2 separate regions of the Homo sapiens genome follow, and region 2 is linked to region 1. The links are contacts of gene promoters, found by promoter capture Hi-C in blood cells and fetal thymus (Javierre and others, 2016). All regions are on one chromosome and are shown on one strand. The core of a region is centred on a gene start or on the middle of the fragment in contact, and the rest is flanking DNA. Distances in the headings are between cores, read along the strand shown.

Region 1 (6,057 bases), core at 1,936-4,435:
AGAGGTTGATATGGAATCAACCTAAGTGTCTATCAACAGATGAATGGATAAAGAAAATATGGTATGTATATTCAATAAAATACTATTTAGCCATAAAAAATGAAATTTTGTCATTTACAGCAACATGGATGGCACTAGAGATCATTATGTTAAGTGAAATAAGGCAGGCACAGAAAGACAAATATCACATGTTCTTGATATATGGGAGTTTAAAAAGTTGATCTCATGGAAGTAGAAAGGAGAATGATAGTTCCCAGAGGCTGGAAACACAGGGGCAGATGAAGAGAAGTTGGTTATATGTATACAAACATATACTTAGATAGAAGGACTAAGTTCTAGTGTTCAATAGCACAGTAGGCTGACTATAGCTATATATTGTATATTTTAAAACAGCTAGAAGAGAATATTTGAAATGTTTCCAACACAAAGAAATGATAACTGTTCAAGGTGATGAATATCCTGTGTACCTTTATTTGATCATCACACATGGTATGCATATATCAAAATATCACATATATCCCACAAATATGTTCAAATATTATGCATTAATAAAAATGATTTAAAAAAATTGAAGGGAGCCAAAAAGAAGTCATGTTTTAATGCCAGGATAAGAAAGGCAATAATAGAAAAAACAGCATTCTAAAACTGACATAGTTTTCTGATATTGAAGTCTGGATTTTAGGGAAGGTACACAGTTCACTGCAGATTAGGACATTTTGAGGCTTTATGTTGGTAGGAGCAGGATATTAGTGATAGTACTTACGTTGTATCAACAGTTGTGTACAACCTGAGATGGAGCAGATGGTTTGAGTTTTGAGAATATTAAGCTTGTGGCAGATAAATGGAATTTTTGCTAAAATATTAAATATTGGTTAATAAAATATTTTCAACCAATCCTTCTTTAAATAATTAATCCCATCGAAACAATCATTACTGGTGCTTCATGCACTTCAGAGAAAATTCATTGTGGAACCACGATGTTAACTTTTCAATTTAATTCACTTCCATGCTGCTGGAGTCCCATGAGCACTAGATTGAATGCCAGGGGTGGTGGGTCAAGGATTCAGGCAAGTTTGGGCCAATTTGGAGGGTGGAAATAGGGAACCACATATTATTCTATTTTCACAAAGGCCCAATGAATTCTGTAGGGAAGAAGTCATGGCAAAATAAAGGGCTGCAGTTTTAAGCAGCAGAGATATGGGCGGCCATCATGAGTCCCAGCAGGGACTTCTAATGGGTTTGGTGTAGAGGACAGCCACTTCCAGTAAGCTGGAACCTAAGGGATAAGGAATAAAATGGTAAACACTGGAAGAACAAGTTCTCAGAATACGAGTGAAAAATGTGTGTGAGGAGGGGTTCCCAAAACTATAAGAGGACTTTGAGGGGTTTTATTCCAATAGACGCTGTGGGAATATACTTTTTGGCATCCATTATTGTTACTCTGGTCTTAGCCTGTTGTCACCTGGAAAATGCAGATTACTTTTATATCTCTGGAAAGAATAGTGGCTTGGTCATCAGATGGCACACTCAAAAGGCACACATAAGTAGGTTTCTTGTCTCTGTCTTTAAAACAATAAGCACTTAAAGTATCATTTGGAGAAAACAGCAGTTACCAGGAAATCACTTAGCTGAGATAAAAAAGAAAAGAATCCTCGAATAGCATTTAATCTTCAAAATAAGAATTTTCCATTCTTGGGTCAGACCGATAGATGACATGGCATTTAGACATCCAATTCATACCTTTGCTTGCAACTGAGCCTCAGACACACATATATGATGGAAATGTTCTTTGGCATTACACTGCTTTCTTAGTTTGCATCGCTAGTCACCTTTGTATCATTTGCATCTGATTTGGAAAATATTTTAGAACAACCCAATAACAACTTCGAGATTAAAAAATAAAATTCTACACACTTTACAGTTCCTTGCTATTACATGAATGTGTAAATTGAATTCCCTCTCAGGAGAAAAAAAACAAAACAAGGGCTGGCTTCCCAAAAATGTTTTCACTGGCTTTAGGGAACTAAAACACCAGTGTCTGGGTGAGTAATACTTCCTGTAAAATAAAGATAGATCAACACATAATTAAGTCCTGGCTCACATATAATTGTTGTTTTGGAAACAGTTTTGAGGATAAATATGGTTATGCTAATGAAACTGCCCATGATTTCCACTAATGATCCAGTTTATTAATTAGGTCAGGACATTTTTCCACCTTGTGCTATCCATTTTGGAATGCTGAAAAGGGTTAAAAAAAAAAACTTCTAAGAGAACACTGTAGGCGAAGAAAAAGAGAGAAATTTTAAATTAGTTATCAACTCTTCTAAGGATTCCAGTTGGAGGAGTAGATCGAAAGTGCTTTTTCGATTATTTATGGGTTTCGAAGATTCTTCCTACTCCACTAGGCAGAAAAACAGAGTTGTAATATACAGCATTTAGAATTCATAATCCTTAGCATTATTTCTCTGAACTCGACATCCTAAATAGCCAGCGTTTACTAATTCCAGAGCTGAGTGTAGTTTTGTAGGAAGTTCTACTGAATGCGGAGACCAAAGGGGAGCCTGCCTGCTCTGAGGGTTTTGTTGAGGCTGAGTGTGAACTCCGGGCGAGAAAGCGCATCTCAGCTCTTAGATCACACCCACTCAGGGTGTGCGTGTGTGTGTGCGCGGGTGCCTGCGCGCGTGTGTACGTGTGGGGAGGTGTGCGCCAAAGGGGTGGGGTGAGGGGCGGCGAGGAGGGCTGTAGGTGAAGCGCGGGGAGAGGGAGGTCGCCCGCTCCGGCCTCTCCCCCAGGGGCCCTGCGGCTGGCCAGCGCTCCGGCTGCACCTCCTGGTGCGCGCCGCGGCGGCGCCACAGGCCCCTCGACCCTTTGACCACCGCCCTCGGGCCGCGCGTCCGGCAGCCGGGACCGGTGATGGCGCGGGACTGACGGCCGTCTCCTCCCAGACCCCTCTGTCCCGCCTGGGGCTCGCTGGGGCTGCGGCGCCGCCCCGAGCTGCATGTGGGGCGGGCGCGCCCGAGCCCAGAGCGAGCGGCCCTCGGCGCCCCCGAGGCGGTGCCCCGCCGCGCCAGAGTACGAGGAGGAGCGGCGGGCCGGGCCAGGCTCCCCACGCGCCGCAGCCTCGGAGCACGGGCTCCCCGGAGGGGACTTGGGGCGTCCCAGCCCAGGAGGAAGGACCCGGAAGCAGAAGCGGAGCCGCGAGTCGAGCCGAGCCACTGCCCCCGCTGCCCGCGGGCGCCGGGTGGGGGTCCCGGCGGCTGGATGGGCAGCGGCGGCGCGGGCCGCGGGCGGCGATGGGCGAGGAGCAGAGCACGGTGAGCGGCGGCGGCGGGCCCCAGGAGTCGCAGACCCTGGCCAGTGGCACTGCGGGCCACCCTGAGCCCCCGAGGCCTCAGGGGGACAGCGCCCGGGCGCCCCCGCTGCGCGCCGCCTCCGCGGAGCCGAGCGGCGGTGGCTGCGGAAGCGACTGGGGCTGCGCGGACACCAGCGCCCCAGAGCCCGCGAGGAGCCTGGGGCCCCCGGGCTGGAGTAAGAGCCGAGCACCGGCGCAGCCTGCGGGACTGGCACTCACCGGGCCTCTCAATCCCCAGACCTTGCCACTGCAGTTGGAGCTGGAGGAGGAAGAGGAGGAAGCTGGGGATCGAAAAGAGGGAGGGGATGAACAGCAGGAGGCGCCCCCCGGCGAAGAGCTGGAGCCCAGGACCCGCGTGGGGGCCGCCGACGGACTGGTCCTGGACGTGCTGGGTCAGCGGCGCCCGTCCCTCGCCAAGAGACAAGTCTTCTGCTCCGTGTACTGCGTGGAGAGCGACCTGCCCGAGGCCCCCGCCTCGGAGCAGCTCTCGCCGCCCGCGTCGCCACCTGGGGCTCCGCCAGTGTTGAACCCTCCCAGCACCCGCTCTTCCTTCCCCAGCCCCCGACTGTCCCTCCCAACGGATTCCCTCTCCCCCGACGGCGGCAGCATCGAGCTGGAGTTCTACCTGGCGCCCGAGCCGTTCTCCATGCCCAGCCTGTTGGGAGCTCCACCCTACTCTGGCCTGGGCGGTGTAGGGGATCCCTATGTGCCCCTCATGGTGCTGATGTGCCGGGTGTGCCTGGAAGACAAGCCCATCAAGCCCCTGCCTTGCTGCAAGAAGGCCGTGTGCGAGGAGTGCCTCAAAGTCTACCTGAGCGCCCAGGTAACTTCACCCCCTTCTCTTCCCCATTTATCATTCCAAATCACTGGCGAGGAGGTCCTGCTCTCGATCTGATCTCCCTGCTCGCGCGAAGAGGTGACCGACACACTTACTGAGGATCTCTGTTAGTTTCTCACGTCTCAGTTGTTATTTAAGTGTATTATGACCTCACTGGTTTACTTAACTGGAATTTAACTTTGCTGTGAACTTCAGGCTATGGTTGGCATGTGTAGAAGGCACAAGATACAAGTTGTTGCCCTCCTCTTATTTCTTATACAGGATTGCAAGCACAAGCTTGCTCAAAGGAGGAGAGGAAGAGACTGCCTCATCGGCCTGGTATCCCAGAAACTAACAAGCAGTGGGCATAGAATAAATATTTATGGAGCTGGTGGAGAAAAGAATTGGAATAAATATTTCAGACCCATAATACATGAATTTGTAATTTTGCTTCATTTGTATATTCCAGGAAAGAGTGAATGTTTAAAAAAATGTATCCCTTGGCCTTTGCCTACTTTTCAGTTTCCTTTTTCCACAGTAAAGTTGAAGTACTTTTCTTTCACTGAGGTTTTAAGCCAGCACTCTTTAAGAGGGAAGCAAAACAGAAAGAGCAAAACAAAGCAAAGAGAGGCTAAGAGGTTTCTCAGAACAAGCACTGGTGAAACTTTCCTCCTCTGCTTTTATTTGAAAACTTGGTTTTTTTTCTTGGAAAGCTTGAGAGTGCACCAGACCAGCTTTCCTTCACTGACGGTGAATGCGTTCTTCCAGCAGTTTTCAATCTGTGATGTTTCTGCCAGTGTTTTGCACAATCCTGGATGCCCTTTGATCCTGTGTCCAATTGTCCTAGGCCTATTCATCTTTCAAAACCCTGTGTGTTCAGGTGCCAACTCTTCTGTGAAGCGTTGCCTCACCCTCCAAGTCACTGCTTATATACTTTCACAGTATCTTATATTATCTTACATGCACTGAAGTTGTTTCTTTCGTGTCTGCTTGTCTTGTTAGACTGTCTGGACAATGTCTTAGAGTCCCATATGTGGTAGCTTCATGTTGAGTCCCTTGCCCATCATAGTGTTTTTAATAACATTGGCTGGGACAAACTGAACAGGGCTCCGTACCATGTGATTCCTCTATGTTTTTTGGCTAACTCATGCTTGGGTCTAGACTGAAAGTGTGTACAGTCCCTAACTAAAAATGCAAACAAAGACTTAAAACGGTATGTTACATAAACAGTAAGTTGGCTAAAATAGTTGGGATTATTTAAAAGCCTCTGAGAGACTGTTGTTTCTTTCATGCTTTATCTACAGAGATTCTTAAAACAGGAGGAATGTCTGCTGCTGGTTGTGGTAGTTTCTGTATCATCATCCTCAAAACAGATTTCGCTGCCCTGCGATGGGATTCAGACATTTCCAAAATATAAGCCCGCCTCCAGGGAAGTCACTGTGAGAGCAGATGTGTACAAAAGAACAATACAAGGTAGCATGGGATGAGATGTCAATAGAGTAACAATTCCAGATAGCACTTCCTGTTAAATGCTGGATACACATTCCAGAAATTCAAGGGAGGTAGTCATTGTGGCTTGGGGTACTTTACCTAGCAGTTTGATTTCCTTATGGTGGGCCCTTTCCCCAAAGCAGTTTTCTTTTTCTTTATTAAACCTCATAAGTTAGTTTTAGGAAGTTTTAGTAATGGTAGTAGGGAGACAGAGGGACATAGTCAAGTGGTCATTGCAGTGTACAGTACAACCACTAAAAACTCCTCTGCAGTGACACAGTATCTGAAGCTTGTCTGCAGCATTTCTGATTGTATGTATGTGCCTGACCTTCTTCCAAAGTATTTGCTGGGACTTTCAATAAATAATAATACACATTATTGGCCGGGTGCGGTGGCT
Region 2 (5,766 bases), core at 1,384-3,883, 110 kb after region 1:
CTGACATGGCAGTTGAGGATTCATTTTACTTACTTGAATTCAGCTGCATTCATATTGCTGCAAAGGATGTGATTTCATTCTTCTTTATGGCTCAGTAGTATTCCATGATCTATATATACCACATTTTCTTTATCCAGTCCACTGTTGATGGGCACCTAGGTTGATTCAGTTTGTTTGCTATTGTGAATAGTGCTGCAATGAAAATGCAAGTGCATCTTTTTCATGAACTATTTTCTTTTGGGTATATCCCCAGTAATAGGACTCCTGGGTCCAACTGTAGTTCTAAGTTCTTTGAGAAATCTCCAAACTGCTTTCCACAGTGATTGAACTAATCCACATTCCCAGCAATAGTGTATAAGCATTCCCTTTTCTTTGCAGCCTCACCAGCATCTGTTGTTTTTTGACTTTTTAATAATACCCATTCTGACTGGTGTGAAATCTCAGGGGATTTTTTTTATTTCAATAGTTTTTGGGGTACCGTTGGTTTTTGGTTACATGGGTAAATTCTTTAGTGGTGATTTCTGAGATTATAGTGCACCCATTATCCGAGCAGTGTACACTGTACCCATTACATTATGCCTCATCCCTTTCCCACTCTTACCTCCTATTCCTAGTCCCCAAACTTCATGAGATCATCTTTATACCTTTGCATCCCCATAGCTTAGCTCCCACTTATAATTGAGACCATACAACATTTGGTTTTCCATTCCTGAGTTACTTCACTTAGAGTAATGGCCTCCAGCTCCATCCAAGTTTCTGCAAAAGACATTATTTCATTTCTTTTATGCTCTTCAGTAGTATTCCATGGTGTATATATAGCATGTTTTCTTTATCCACTCATTGATTGTTGGGTACTTAGATTGGTTCCACATCTTTGCAGTTGTGAATTGTGCTGCTATAAACATGTGCGTGCACATGTATTTTTCATATAATGATGTCTGTCCTTTTGGATAGATATTCAGCAGCAGGATTGCTGGATCAAATGATAGCTTTACTTTTAGTTCTTCAAGGAATCTGTTTTCCATAGTGATTGTACTAACTTGCAGTTCCACAAACATAAAAGTGTTTTCTTTTCACCACATTCACACCAACATCTATTGTTTTTTGACTTTTTAATTATGGCCATTCTTGTAGGAGTAAGGTGGTATCTCATTGTGTTTTTAATTTGCATTTCCCTGATAATTAGTGATGCTGAGCATTTTTTCATATGTTTGTTGACTGTTGGTATCTCTTCTTTTGAGAAATGTCTATTCATGTCCTTTGTCCACTTTTTTATGGGATTTGTTTGAGTTTCAGGAAATTTTTTTAAAGCTTTCCTTGTAACTTTTGTTTCTAATTAATTCTTCCAGGTATCAAAAGTCATTGAAGGAAACACATATATAAAAATACTTTCAAAAATGAATTAGAGGTTAGGATTTTATCTAGAGTAAAATATTTGTTGGGGGCAGTAATACATAACAGTCAACTTAGTTATCAAATGCTGCTTAAACAATAAAGTAAGCCTTCATTTCTTGGTGAAACTGGAGACAAATACTTGTGGGCAGATGTATACTGATTTAGTCATAAAACATTGTAGGTTTAGCAGTTCATTTACTGTTATTCTTCTACCTTATGATTAGGTAGAACCTTGTTTGAAAATAAAAGGCCACATTCCAGTTCTTTTTTTTAGATACTTTGTGGGCATTTTATTGAATTAAATGTAAACAACTTGAGGAGGACAGGTACTATTTTCTTCATGCAGATGGTTCCCAAGTTAGGATGGTCTGACATGATTTCGACTTTTCTTACGATTTTTCAACTTTTCCATGATGTGAAAGTAACATGCGTTTGGTAGAAACCATATTTCAAATTTTGAATTTCGATCTTTTCCCAGGCTCAAAGTAAGCTGGGCAGTGGCAGCGAGCTGTGCAGCTGGCAGTCACCCGTGCCATCACGAGGGTGAACAACTGATACTCACAGTGGACTGGGTTGCCAGCATTTTTTGGATATTGTGTTTTGTTTTTTCACATCCCATGTCTACAAATTGCCCATTTTCAACCTATGATATTTTCAACTTGGAGCATCTGCCTACATATGTGTGTGTGTGTGTGTGTGTGTGTGTGTGTGTGTGTGTGTGTGTGTGTGTGTATATCTTATTACAGGTTTTAATCCATCCTGTGAAGAATATCCTAGGCACAAAAATGGCTCCTTGTGTCATTTCCATCTACTACAATGTGGACTTAATATCAAACTCTTATAAGGGAATATCTAGCTTATTCTGAACATTTCATCTTATGACCTTAAGTATAGAAAGATATAAGTAATGCTTGGTGCCTAAATATTCAATTCCTTAAATGTCAGTCATCCTTATTTGTTATAGATAGAAGAAACTATGAGTACTAACAATTCAAATGTCATTCATGATTTATGAGTGGCCAGTTTTATCTAATGGATTAGGATTATCTAGTCTTTCTCCATCTTTTAAGTAAAAAGAGAATTTTGATACTAAATTTTAGCCACTTGGGCAGTTAGTTTATTTTTTAGCAGAGCTAAACTCATGAATATTTTTGGAGCTATAATAAAAAATAAAAACAGCTTCATTGAGAACAAAATGAACTTTCTGTAAATATAATTTAAACCTATGTTTTAAGGCTTTGTGTTTTAAAAACAAAGATGACACTGTTAAAGTGAGACTGATAAAGGTGTACTTGGGGAATTCATCAGCATAAGAAATGTATTATCCCCTGGTAGTACGAGTTTAAAATTACAACTTGCTTAGCAAATGTGAAAAATAATGTCTCCTGTTGCAGATTGCATTTTGCTAGTTTATTTCTCTGTTAGTGTCAAATAAAATATTCATATATAATCAAGATATATTCATAATAATATTAAAGGCAGCACTGTGTACTTGACAGTTGGTAAATGATGAAACAATTTTTTCCGTGATTATGTGTATAAAATACTCAAATTAATCTATAGAGCCATATAATCCCAAAATGTACAAGGTTACTATAGAGCTTACAATTTTACCACTTCCTGTACAGAAATATTATTTGACCAACGGTATTTTAGTTGCCTGCTGCATTTGGAATATAATAATACTAATAAGGAAAGACTGTTAAAAGAGAAAGGCTAGAAAGTGCAAACTTATTTAAATGAAATAATAAATAGGCCACATAAAGATTTTAGAACCCAATGAAGCAATATTACAAACAGATATAAAATTACAGTGAAAATTATATGTGAAATATGAGGCAAAACTTATTAGAACAAGTTTTTCTGTCAGGAAAAGTGATGCCATTTGAAGGAAGAATGGCACAGAATGGCAAAAACAAGAAGACACAGATATACCTTGTGGAGGGAGAGCTGACATGTTTGTCTGACTGGTTGGCAAATAATATGATTGATCTTCTGGTGTTACCTTTTAAGTTCATCATAAGAGGCTACTTAGCATAATAAAGAAACACATGGATTCAAAATCTTTCTCACTCACGAGGATTATCACTCAGGCAGATTACTTTTCTGAACTCTGTTTATGAAGAAGAATGCCAATCTCATGGTGCAGTTATAAGGCTTAAAAGTGCTAATCTGTGTACAATGCTTGGCACATAATAGGCTCTACGCAAAAATTAGCGCTCTTTCCTTGGTAGATCACCCACGACACTGCTATCAGTGTCAAATCAGGAAATTTGTTAAGTCGTATTATCTCCACTTTAAGATCAAACACAATATATAGTCAAAAAGTTGAATGTACGATGCTTTGGGTTTTCGGCAGTTGTCTTCAAATATGTCCTAGTGCTCATGTGGTTTAAATAAGGATCAGAAATGATTCAGAGGTCCAGTAGGGCTGTTGGCCTGTGGTATTCCTAATGCCATTTACTGTGCTAAATGGATGTGGCTACAGTAACCATTGATAAACATGAACAACAGAGGGTAAGTGCTGGACTAGGAGCTGACTCACAGAAAGCTAAAGGGCTTAAGCTTCAAAGACCTTCACCTGCACAGGCCCCTTCTTAGGCCTTGTATCTAATTTGTCTTTGTAAGTTGGATTATTTTGCTTAAAGAAGGATTCTCAAATTAAACAATCTACAGGCCTTGCAAAACCTGGATCCACTGCTACTGGTCTGTCATGTAAAAGGAAAAAAATCACTATGACTAAAAAAGTTAGATAAGGCAACCCATAGCAAGAAACATGAGTTTTGCTTTTCTTGCCCAAATCATGATTTGTTGGTAACTCTCGACCCTAGGTGCTTATATGCCCTTGACCACACACTTGCCTATCTAGGAAAGCACTCTCTAGTCCAGCATCAGCCTAAGAATTGCCCATATGAAGAAGTAAGAAAGGGGACTGCCTGGCAGTCCAGGAACTTGCAGTTAAATTACCCGGGTATTTGATTTCTGGCATTTTTAGGTGGGTAAAGGGGAATAAGTAGATGGGAAACAACTTTATATTGACCTGACTCCATATGTGCCAAAACGAGTTTGGCACTGTGCATAGGTTATCACATTTTACACTGGTTGGTAGGGAATATTATCTAACTTGACACTTGGGAGAGGTAAAGTAACTTCTTTTTAAACAGCTAGTGGAGCTAGAATTCAAACACAGGGCTTTGTGAAGTCAAAGCTCATGTTCTTTCCAACCTCTCTGTAAGGCAGAAGCTTACCTGCCAAGTGTCAGTCACCCACTGGAAAGGAATGGACATTTCACCTCCCAGTTCACCTAACGATTTTGAATACATAAAGTCCTGCCAGCCAATTGACAAACTTTTCTTTCTTGGTCCCTTCATTTCCCCATGTATGAAGTGCCCGCCTGTAATATGCTGTGTTCCACTTAATTATTACTTCTTCAAAATGATCACAGTCACCAAGAAACTCTCCAGTTAGGTAGGTCGGTAGACAGAAGATAGGTAGATAGATAGATAGATAGATAGATAGATAGATAGATAGATAGATAGATAGATAGGGATGGGAGGAAGGGGGAGAGAGAGGTGTTATCTTTTAAGTGACATTTTTGTGATTACTATGATTAATGGCCGTTATTAGTTCACAAGCAGCCTCATGAGTTCTTTTGAAATTCATATTGTTCCATTAAATTGCAGTTTTATATTTTAGTTATTTAATCCCTAAAACTGAAATACTGCACATAATTTGGAGTTAGGAACTTCAAAAACTTTTTATTCCTAAAAGCTATACAACAAGGTTTTATTTTAAAGTAAAGAAAAATTTTCATCTCTCAACCTTTTCATTTCTCCTTTCACAGAACTCTTCTCTTTTTCCTGGATGATTTTATCCCACCTCCATAATCATTGACCAGTTTTTTTAATGCAGTTATAACTACACTACTTCAGACATTCAAATAAATACACTGTATTAGGGGAAGGAAAGGATAATTTTAAAGGAAATATGCAGAGTTTTAGCTTATGGCTAAGACTTGACTGACAAGAGTCAAACAACTACTGAAGGATTTGACACACTTGTTAATTGTAAAACTCCCAATTGCTTTAAAACATTCACTGACACTCTAGTCCCGAAACAACACAATGAATAGAAGCCTCCACTAGTCAAAATGGTATCAGGAGCATTTTCAATAAAATTTCTAAGCAAAGAACTCACATGTGAATGAATAAAGATGTGACTTGAGCAAGTACCTACTCCAAGTGCAAGCTTGTCCAACCTGTGGACCACTTGCTGCCCAGGACAGCTTTGAATGCAGCCCAACACTAATTTGTAAACTTTCTTAAAACATTATGAGATGGTTTTTGCAATTTTTTTTAGCTCATCAGCTAT

Evidence for each region. Contacts are between HindIII fragments. The CHiCAGO score rates a contact against its expected background, and 5 or more counts as called.
Region 2: a fragment that was not itself captured here is called in contact with the fragment with the promoter of RNF217 in region 1 in 2 of 17 cell types (megakaryocytes and M2 macrophages); the score reaches 5.1 in megakaryocytes.

Annotation. Positions count from the first base shown.
Region 1 is chr6:124,959,252-124,965,308 of GRCh38, forward strand. RNF217 (ring finger protein 217) reads left to right here and starts at 3,186. Exons shown (of 6, transcript NM_001286398.3): 1 at 3,186-4,175. The coding sequence starts at 3,294. RNF217-AS1 (RNF217 antisense RNA 1) reads right to left here and starts at 3,776. Exons shown (of 7, transcript NR_026876.1): 1 at 3,572-3,776. The HindIII fragment of the contact is 3,639 bases long and covers 826-4,464 here.
Region 2 is chr6:125,069,411-125,075,176 of GRCh38, forward strand. The region is part of intron 3 of RNF217 (ring finger protein 217); the gene reads left to right. Among named protein-coding and RNA genes, the nearest start is that of TPD52L1, 81 kb to the right of the region's middle. The HindIII fragment of the contact is 2,649 bases long and covers 1,310-3,958 here.